Linked DNA regions of Homo sapiens: region 1 is linked to region 2. Evidence: promoter capture Hi-C in 16 types of primary human blood cells and fetal thymus (Javierre and others, 2016). All regions are on one chromosome and are shown on one strand. The core of a region is centred on a gene start or on the middle of the fragment in contact, and the rest is flanking DNA. Distances in the headings are between cores, read along the strand shown. Region 1 has its middle 22 kb from the start of SMC3. Region 2 holds the start of XPNPEP1 (X-prolyl aminopeptidase 1).

Region 1 (3,964 bases), core at 1,244-3,743, 620 kb after region 2:
TTAGTAGCATTGGTGGACTGGGGAGAAGAGCATTTTATCAAGGCTCAAAGTAGGAAATTTGGTCCTTGGGACAAATAGCAGGAAATGAGAGCTCAGATCAAAGGAAGGGCACCCCGGAGGAAGGAGATGTGGTACAAGCAAAGGCATTGGTCACTCATGTGCCTTGGCTCACTGGCCTGTGTCACTCCAACCTCTGCTTCTGTCGTCACCTCTATTTTCCCAACTCCCCTGTCTTCTTCTTTCCCTTATCAGGACTCTTGTGATTACGCTGGGCCACTCCAGATGATCCAGGATAATCTCCCCATCTCAAAATCCTGAACTGAATCAGTTTTGTCATGTAAGGTTTCATATTCATAGGTTCTAGGAATTAGGGTGTGGACATTTGGGGGATTATTATTCTGCCCACCTCACCTGGGCAAGCCACTTTCTCTGGCCTGAGTTTCCTTATCTGCAGACCATGAGTCTCTGACACAAAACTCTTCACGATCCCTTCCAGGTTTTGCTGGTGGAAATATTTTGAGTGAAATCCAGGGGGACTGAGGTATAGAAACTGTACTCAATTTCTTATGGGTTTCCTTACTTCCTCCTCTAGAACTATACTCTCTCCTCTGAATGCTACCAATGTCATTTGTATGTAAGCTTTTATTTTATTTATTTATTTATTTATTTATTTATTTATTTATTTATTGAGATGGAGTCTCGCTCTGTCGCCCAGGCTGGAGTGCAGTGGTGTGATCTTGGCTCACTGCAAGCTCTGCCTGCCAGGTTCACGCCATTCTTCTGCCTCAGCCTCCAGAGTAACTGGGACTACAGGTGCCCGTCACCACGCCTGGCTAATTTTTCTGTATTTTTAGTAGAGATGGGGTTTCACCGTGTTAGCCAGGGTGGTCTCGATCTCCTGACCTAGTGATCCGCCCGCCTCGGCCTCCCAAAGTGCTGGGATTACAGGCATGAGCCACCGAATCCGGCCTGTATGTAAGCTTTTATTCATTGAAGGAGCCTGCATAGAGTGCTTACTATGTGCCAGGCCCTGTTCTAAGCAGATATGAAACCACTGAACTTTCCCTAATAGCCCTATGAACCAAGTGCTATTGCTATCCTTATTTTATAGAGGCACAGAGAGGTTAAGTATATCTTGCACAAGATCACAGAGTGGCAGGACTGAGGTCAAACTTCAGCTGTCTGGCTCCAGAATCTGTATTCTTAACCACTGGCCACCCAGCATCTCATCAAAGCCCTTGACCACAGTCATGAGGCTATTGCTTAAGTCTCTTCTCCTAGACTGTGGGCAGCTCAAGAGCAGGAGTCTTGTCTAACTCTGTGAATCCCAGCTCTGATAACAGCCTAGTACACAAATAAACCAAAATATAAGCATACTACTTATCTACTTGAGAGCCTCTTGATTAGGGCCATGATTGCAGGACATAATAATAAACATTTATGGGACACTTCAAAAGAAAACATAATCCTCATGCCAGCACTGGGAAGGAGGTACTATTATGATCTTCATTTTACAGACTAGGAAACTGCAGCAGAAAGAAAAAAGCTAAGTAATGTGCCCAAGGTCAGGAACTGGATTTGAGTTGAGAGCTGCTTGACTTCCAAGCTTGCATTGTGAAGGTGAGCATGAACTCCTTGAGGGCTGCAATTTTAAAGTTAGAACCAAGTTTGACTCTGGACAACCACAGAGAGGAACAAAAAAATGAACATTTTACTGGACAATGCAATATGCCAGGTTCTGGTGCCAGGTGCTTAACATAACTCAGGTAGTCCTCAGAACAACCTGGTTGTTCCGTTTCACAGATGAGAAAACGGAGGTTTAGAGAGACTAAGTGAGTTTCCCAAAGTCTACTGGGAGAGCCAAAACTGGGTATAATTCCACAATTCATCAACTTTCCACTATTACTAAGCTGCTGGGCCTCAGTTCTCTCATTTGAAAAGATGGAGTCCAGCTCAGCTTTTTTTTTTTTTAAACAACATTAAGTGTGTGCTTATTGTGTGCCAGGCACTGTGCTAAGAACTTCACATTTATTATGTAATTTCATCCTCATAACATTCCCTGAGGTGCTATATACTATTAGTATTATTTCTACTTTACAAATAGAGAAACTGAGGCTCAGACAGACATATGTTGTTACACAGCGACTCTGAGGCCCAGCCCGAGTTTAACTGAAGCTTGTTAGAATCATAAGCCAGACTCTTGCCTATTTTCCTGTGCGGCCTCCAGCAGTCTCTGGCAGCCTTTGGAGTGAGGACATCCTGTGTTCCTCCAGAATCAGAACAAGGCTGGGATGGACGTGGGATGAGTTCCTCAGTGCGTGGGCCTCTCTTCCTTTGGATTTCAAAGACTCACTTCAGTGAAGTCCTGTCAAAGTCAAAAGGTGACATTGAATGGACAGTCGGCCCAGGCTCAGAGTCCAGTCCTGGCACCTCAAGGGCTTGGCTATTTCCTCTGATCCTGTTGTCAAGGCAACCTTGGATCCCTTTGTGGTTCTGTGGTTATTCTCCCTCTTGTGTCCTTGTCTTCCTACGGTTTCAAGAGAATACTTTAGAGACAGCGGCTCCAAATGGCCTACTTGTCACTGATTGAAGGAGATGCTGACTTGAGATAAAAACAGTTCCTAGGACCCTTCAAGGCCTCAACTAGAAAAGGCAATTCTCTGTAAACACGTTGAGGGCAGAGGTTGTCTGTCTTATCATAGCTGTACCCCAGCACCTCACAGGATGCCTGGAACAGAGTAGGTGCTCAGTTAACATTAAGCAAATACATGAATGAATGAATGAATGAACTGATTATGCAAACGAGCTCCCTAAGCTTTTCAGGGGTTGAAAAACTGGGGCAGAGTGATGGGCTAAGATATGTGGCAGAACTAAGAATAAAAGTGCATGTGTGTGTGTGAGTGTGGGTCCCACGGCAAAGGCTCCACAACCCCTGTGATGCATTGGCCTGTGTACCTCCACCTCTCCTCTCCACGTCTTGTGAGCTAGAGCTGTTGGTTGGGTATAGACAGTTCCTGCCCACGCCAGGCTAAAGAAGCAATCTCTCTCTCTTTCTCTTCCTCCCACCCCCGTAAATTGTGGCAAAATACACATAACACAAAATTTACCATCTTAAGCATTTTTAAACGTATGTTGATGTTATTATGCAACTAATCTCCAGGACTCTTCATCATGCAAAGCTATCTCTTTAATCTTGTGTCCATCCCAATTTTACCTACTATTTTGAATTTTAGCTACAAATAGACCCTGGGTTTTGACCTCTGTATTGAGTCTTAGTGTGTTACAGGACAGTATTGGCGACCAACAAATGTTCACTGGGTAATTGATCTTACTCTGTGTTTTATTTTTTTCCTGCGTGCTTCAATTTCTCGGTTTACAAGCAATTTTGGCTTTGTGATGCATCCCACAATTACAAGAACTTCTTCACCGCCCTCTAGTGGTAAAGATGAAGATGTGACACTCAGAATAACCATTCGCCTTTCCTGCTGATGTTGAACATGGCCCCTTTTTTTCTGATAACTCGCTGGACTTTATATAATCCAAAATTGTGATTGCTCCAAAGTTGGCAGTTCATCCTCACTTTACAGATAAAGTTGACCTGTAGAACAGTGCTTCTCAAATTGGCTGGCGAAGAACCAGTTTTTAAAAGAATTTTAATCTGCAAACCAATCCATTGTACAATAAAAATGAATTATTAATACTGGACACATTACATTAAAAAACAAAGATATACAAAATTGAACCAAATTTTATTATCATATTCAACAGACAAAATTGCATTTCAATAAATATAATCAGAATAAACATAACGGGAAAAATAATTGCAAAATCTGTACATGTTTATTGAATGTGTGTATTATATGATTAATATATAAATTGCTATTGCATTTATAATTTTTGTTGTTCTGCAATTATAACTAAATGAAAAATTTTGAGTAAAATAGTGTTTCTCTACTTTGAATGA
Region 2 (4,096 bases), core at 1,521-4,020:
TCACCACATTGCCCAGTCTGGTCTCAAACTCCTGGCCTCAAGTGATCCTCCCACCTCAGCCTCCCAAAGTGCTGGGACTATAGGTGTGAGCCACCGTGCCTAGCCAAGGTTACCTTAAGGTAATCCTATTCATTCATTTTACAGAATAAAAAAACAAAGATAACTTACCATAGGCCATATAACTCAGTAGCCGCAAAGCCAAGACCAGAAACTAGGTCTGACAGGTGAGCTCAAACTCTCTGTGTGAGCATCAACACCTCCACCTTTCTGTCAGGATCACAGGAGCTACGAAGCAGCTCAATACTACAGCTGCTCTGTTCTTGTCGTATCTTGGTCTCCGCAGAGTCCAAGATCTATCCACCTTTCACTTGTTTGGACAGATAAAATTCTTAAGTTCTCTGTCAAAGCACAATTATCATTAAATATTAAGAACTAGAAGAATATACCTCAGGGACTATCCAACTCAATTCCCTCCTCTAGACCAGGAAACCAAGAAACAAAGATCAAATGACTGGCTCAAGGCCTCACAGCTAACTGCTGACAGAGCTAGAACCAGCGTTCCAGCCTCCCAACATCCAGCTCAGTGCTCCTACCCTTCCCAGAACTTCTTCGACCTACACCTTCTCAACTTCATGATGAGCCACAAAGTGGGTAAGGGGCAAGAAGCATGCAGAGCACTTTCAATCTTTGTATAAGATGGTTATGGTAGCACTAGAAAAGGCCTTCTCCCTCTTTTTCCAAGAAATTCTGGCAGGGTTCTGAATACCTCACCCCCCTGCAACCCCCAGTTCATGGGAATCACACATGTGTAGCGTTCAGCATGGGGCAAAACAAGGAACAAGATGCTCAATCACACCTAGTGGATGAGACAAGGGTAAACTGGAACAAGTTCTAAGGTTGGGAAGTAAGCAATGTTGTCTTTGTCTACCCAGAATCCATCCCTCCTTTTGATGGGAACCTTGGTTTTCCTTTTGAGAATGTACCCTCTCCATTTCAGCCCAAGGGGTTCAAAGCAGTCTTATCCAAACACCTAACAGGCTCTGGGACCCAAAGCAGGTCAATCCCTCCCTCTGGCCATAATGATTGGTTCACAGATGAACATGAGAATTAAGGCAGCCCAGTGAGCATCAGATCAGGGACTTCTGCTCCATTAGGAAGGAGGGCTCAACTTCTCTGCTGGGGCTGTCAGCCTAGAACTGTCATAACCTGCCATAAGGAGAAAGTCTCCCTGAGAATGAAGCGGATACTGAATAAATCAGAGCCAAGAGATGATAAAGAGAAGTCTGAAGCCAATGTTGGTGGTGCTCCCGGATTCAGCCACACTAGAAGCCAGCTCAACCCCATTTTAGGTAAATCAATTTGAGTTCAGTTTCCATTACCGAAACTGAAAGAAGTGCTCACTTTTACAAGGAATGGCACTCAAATTCTACCAGTAGGGGAGGCGCCTGTGGAAAATGGCTTCCCCTCTCTCAGCCTTTCACTGGACTTTCCTTTGAGGTAAAAAAGACTCTACCAGCTGGTGTAGAAAAGACTCTTCTGCTCCTAAAAGGCTGTGAGTCTATAAATCTAGCACAGATCACCTTGGCCCCCTAAAGACCACCTGAGGCCTACAGCCTAACTCATCATTATCCACTTGCCTGACTCCATTTCCAGCACTTCACTTACAGGAAGCTCCTTCCAGATGGAAGTTCTCCACCCCTCCCACATACTTCCACAGGGTGGGTCTGGTTTTCTGCTCACCCTTAACAAGCTGTGGCAACGGCAAATCCAGGTCAAGGTAGGTTTGGGACCCCCCTACTCACAAACACAAGCAGGAGCCATGGTCTGTGTTCAGCAAGAAAGCCTGGCCATGCTGCAAAGTGAGTGCATTCATGTCTCAAGTGGTTAGCAGGTGGGTGACCCCTTGGGGATGGCCAGGGAGTCTGGCCTGTGGCCTCCATGAACTCTGAACACCTCTCTCCGTCTCCCACTTTGTCAGAGGCTCTGATAAGTACATCCTGGTTATGGCAGGGGAATAAACTAAAACATGTTTAACTTGAGGCCGGGAAATTATCTGTCTCACCCTCCTATGCCCAAGGAGAGCCCAGGGCAGGCTACTGGGGGGATTTTCCTGGAGATTATACCAAAATATTCCCTTACACAGCCTCTGAAACCATTTGGGTAGGGAGGGGCCCGCGACCGTCTATCCTTGTGGCGGTGACAGATCAGTAGAGTGAATTGCAGGAGTCAGTATTGTCGAGATTGTAACTTGAGGTTTAGATTCCTGGGTAACAGAAGCGAGGGCAAAGGCTCGCCCACCTCCCCGGACACGAAGAGGGGCCAACTTCCTCCAAGAACGGGGCCTTCCCGCGGGCCAGGAACTGTGACGGCCGCCGCCCCCTCAGGCCGAGTGCAGCAGTTCCGCGGGCATACGCGTCCAGGAACCAGACTCGGGCCGCCCCGTGCCCACCGACCCTCCGGAAACGAACCGGATCTCGCCCGGCCTCATGGACCCCTTCCCCCGGCTCCTGTTCCGGGGCTCCGGCGAGCGCGGCCCTCGCCAGACTGCGGCGGGCCGGGCTCCTCACCCGCGCGTCCCTGCCCGCCGAGGTGCAACACGCGCGGCCGCGCAGCGAGGGCTGCACGCTGCCCGGACGCCGGCTGCCGGCGGAGTGCCCTCACCTTACTCGCGGTGGCTTTCTGGAGGCTGCCATTCGGCGGTGACGTGCCCCAGCCCACGTCAGGGGAGCGCAGACCAGCTGATCACCCGCGGAAGGGCCGGCGCGAAGGAGGCGCGAGAGCCGGCGGGCGGGCGGGCGGGCTAGCGCCGGGTCGGCCACGCCCTCGCCCGTGGCGGGCGCTGGCGCCGCGGCCCCGCCCACACGCAGGCCCCGCCCACACTCCCGGACCTGGGGTTCGCGGCCGCAGCGCCTGCGGCCCAGAGCGGGGCCTGCCCTTCCACACCAGTCCGCATTGCCTCTCCCTGCAGCGAGCGGGGAAAGGACGCAGTGCTGCTGAGTGTCTTCATTTTTGTTCGTTTTTGTCGTCATTCCTCAAAGAGGAAAAAGGGCTTTGCCGAATAAAGGGGCTACTGTCCCAGGGATTTTCCGGCTTAATTTAGGAGGGCTGAGAAGAGAGGGACGTGGCCGGCTCCGGAAGAACCTCGACAGGGTCTTCGAGGCTTTGGAACAGGGTCTCAAGCTTTAGAAATGTCCCCAAAAGTATGTTCCCAGAGAGCTTCAAAATCCAGCTCTCCGCTCCGCTTGGATAGTAAATAGCCCCTTCAAACTTAACGTCCAAACGGAACTCCTGGAACTCCCAATGCACCGAAGCAAAGCAAAAACGTTCTCCACCAGTCTTCTTTGCCATCTCAATCAATGGCTACTCTATTCTTAAGAGGCAAAATTTAGGAATCCTCCCTGCCTCTTCTCTTTCACACCCCACATCTAATCTGCCAGCAAAATCTTGTTGGCCCTGCCTCCAAAATAGACCCCTAATCTGGCCGTGTCACACCACCTCCACCTCCTACCCTCTGATGTGCATCAGAGGGTTGTACCACCCCACCCGTGTGGTTACAGCAGCCCCCCAAATATCCCCTCACCATCCCGCACCTGCACAGTCCAGCCTGAACAAAGCCGCCAGACCAGTCCTTTGAAGCGTGACACCAGGTCACTTCTTTGCTCAGCACTTTCCATTAATTTCTCGTTTCACGCAGCATAAAAGCTCCATTTGATCTACCCCCAGCCACATTTCCTCCTGTTCTCACCTTCCTCACTCTTCTTCAGCTGAAATGGCCTCCTGGCTCTCCTTGAAAAAGCAGGGTACACTCATGTCCCAGGGCTTTTGGACTTGCTCATCCCCCAAATATTGAGGCTCCCTTCCTCATTTTCCTTCAAGTCTTCGTTCAAGTATCACCTACCCTGACCATCCTATTTAAATTTGTAAATCATTCCAATATTCCTAATCCGCCTTACCCTACTTCATTTTTTCCATAGCACTTACCACCTTTTAACAGGATTCTTTTAATGTACTTATGTGTACTGTATTCTTCCCCCTCTCCTGCCACCACCCACGCACACAACAAAACCATCAGTGCAGATTGTTTCTGTTTTGTTTA

What was found. The method cuts DNA at HindIII sites, captures the fragments that hold promoters and counts their contacts. A CHiCAGO score of 5 or more calls a contact.
Region 1: a fragment that was not itself captured here is called in contact with the fragment with the promoter of XPNPEP1 in region 2 in 3 of 17 cell types (naive CD8 T cells, non-activated CD4 T cells and naive CD4 T cells); the score reaches 5.4 in naive CD8 T cells.

The regions. Positions count from the first base shown.
Region 1 is chr10:110,543,923-110,547,886 of GRCh38, forward strand. No RefSeq gene overlaps it. Among named protein-coding and RNA genes, the nearest start is that of SMC3, 22 kb to the right of the region's middle. The HindIII fragment of the contact is 640 bases long and covers 2,174-2,813 here.
Region 2 is chr10:109,920,741-109,924,836 of GRCh38, forward strand. It overlaps XPNPEP1 (X-prolyl aminopeptidase 1), which reads right to left and starts at 2,771. Exons shown (of 21, transcript NM_020383.4): 1 at 2,662-2,771. The coding sequence starts at 2,693. RefSeq lists a silencer at 2,447-2,986. The HindIII fragment of the contact is 9,615 bases long and covers 1-3,178 here.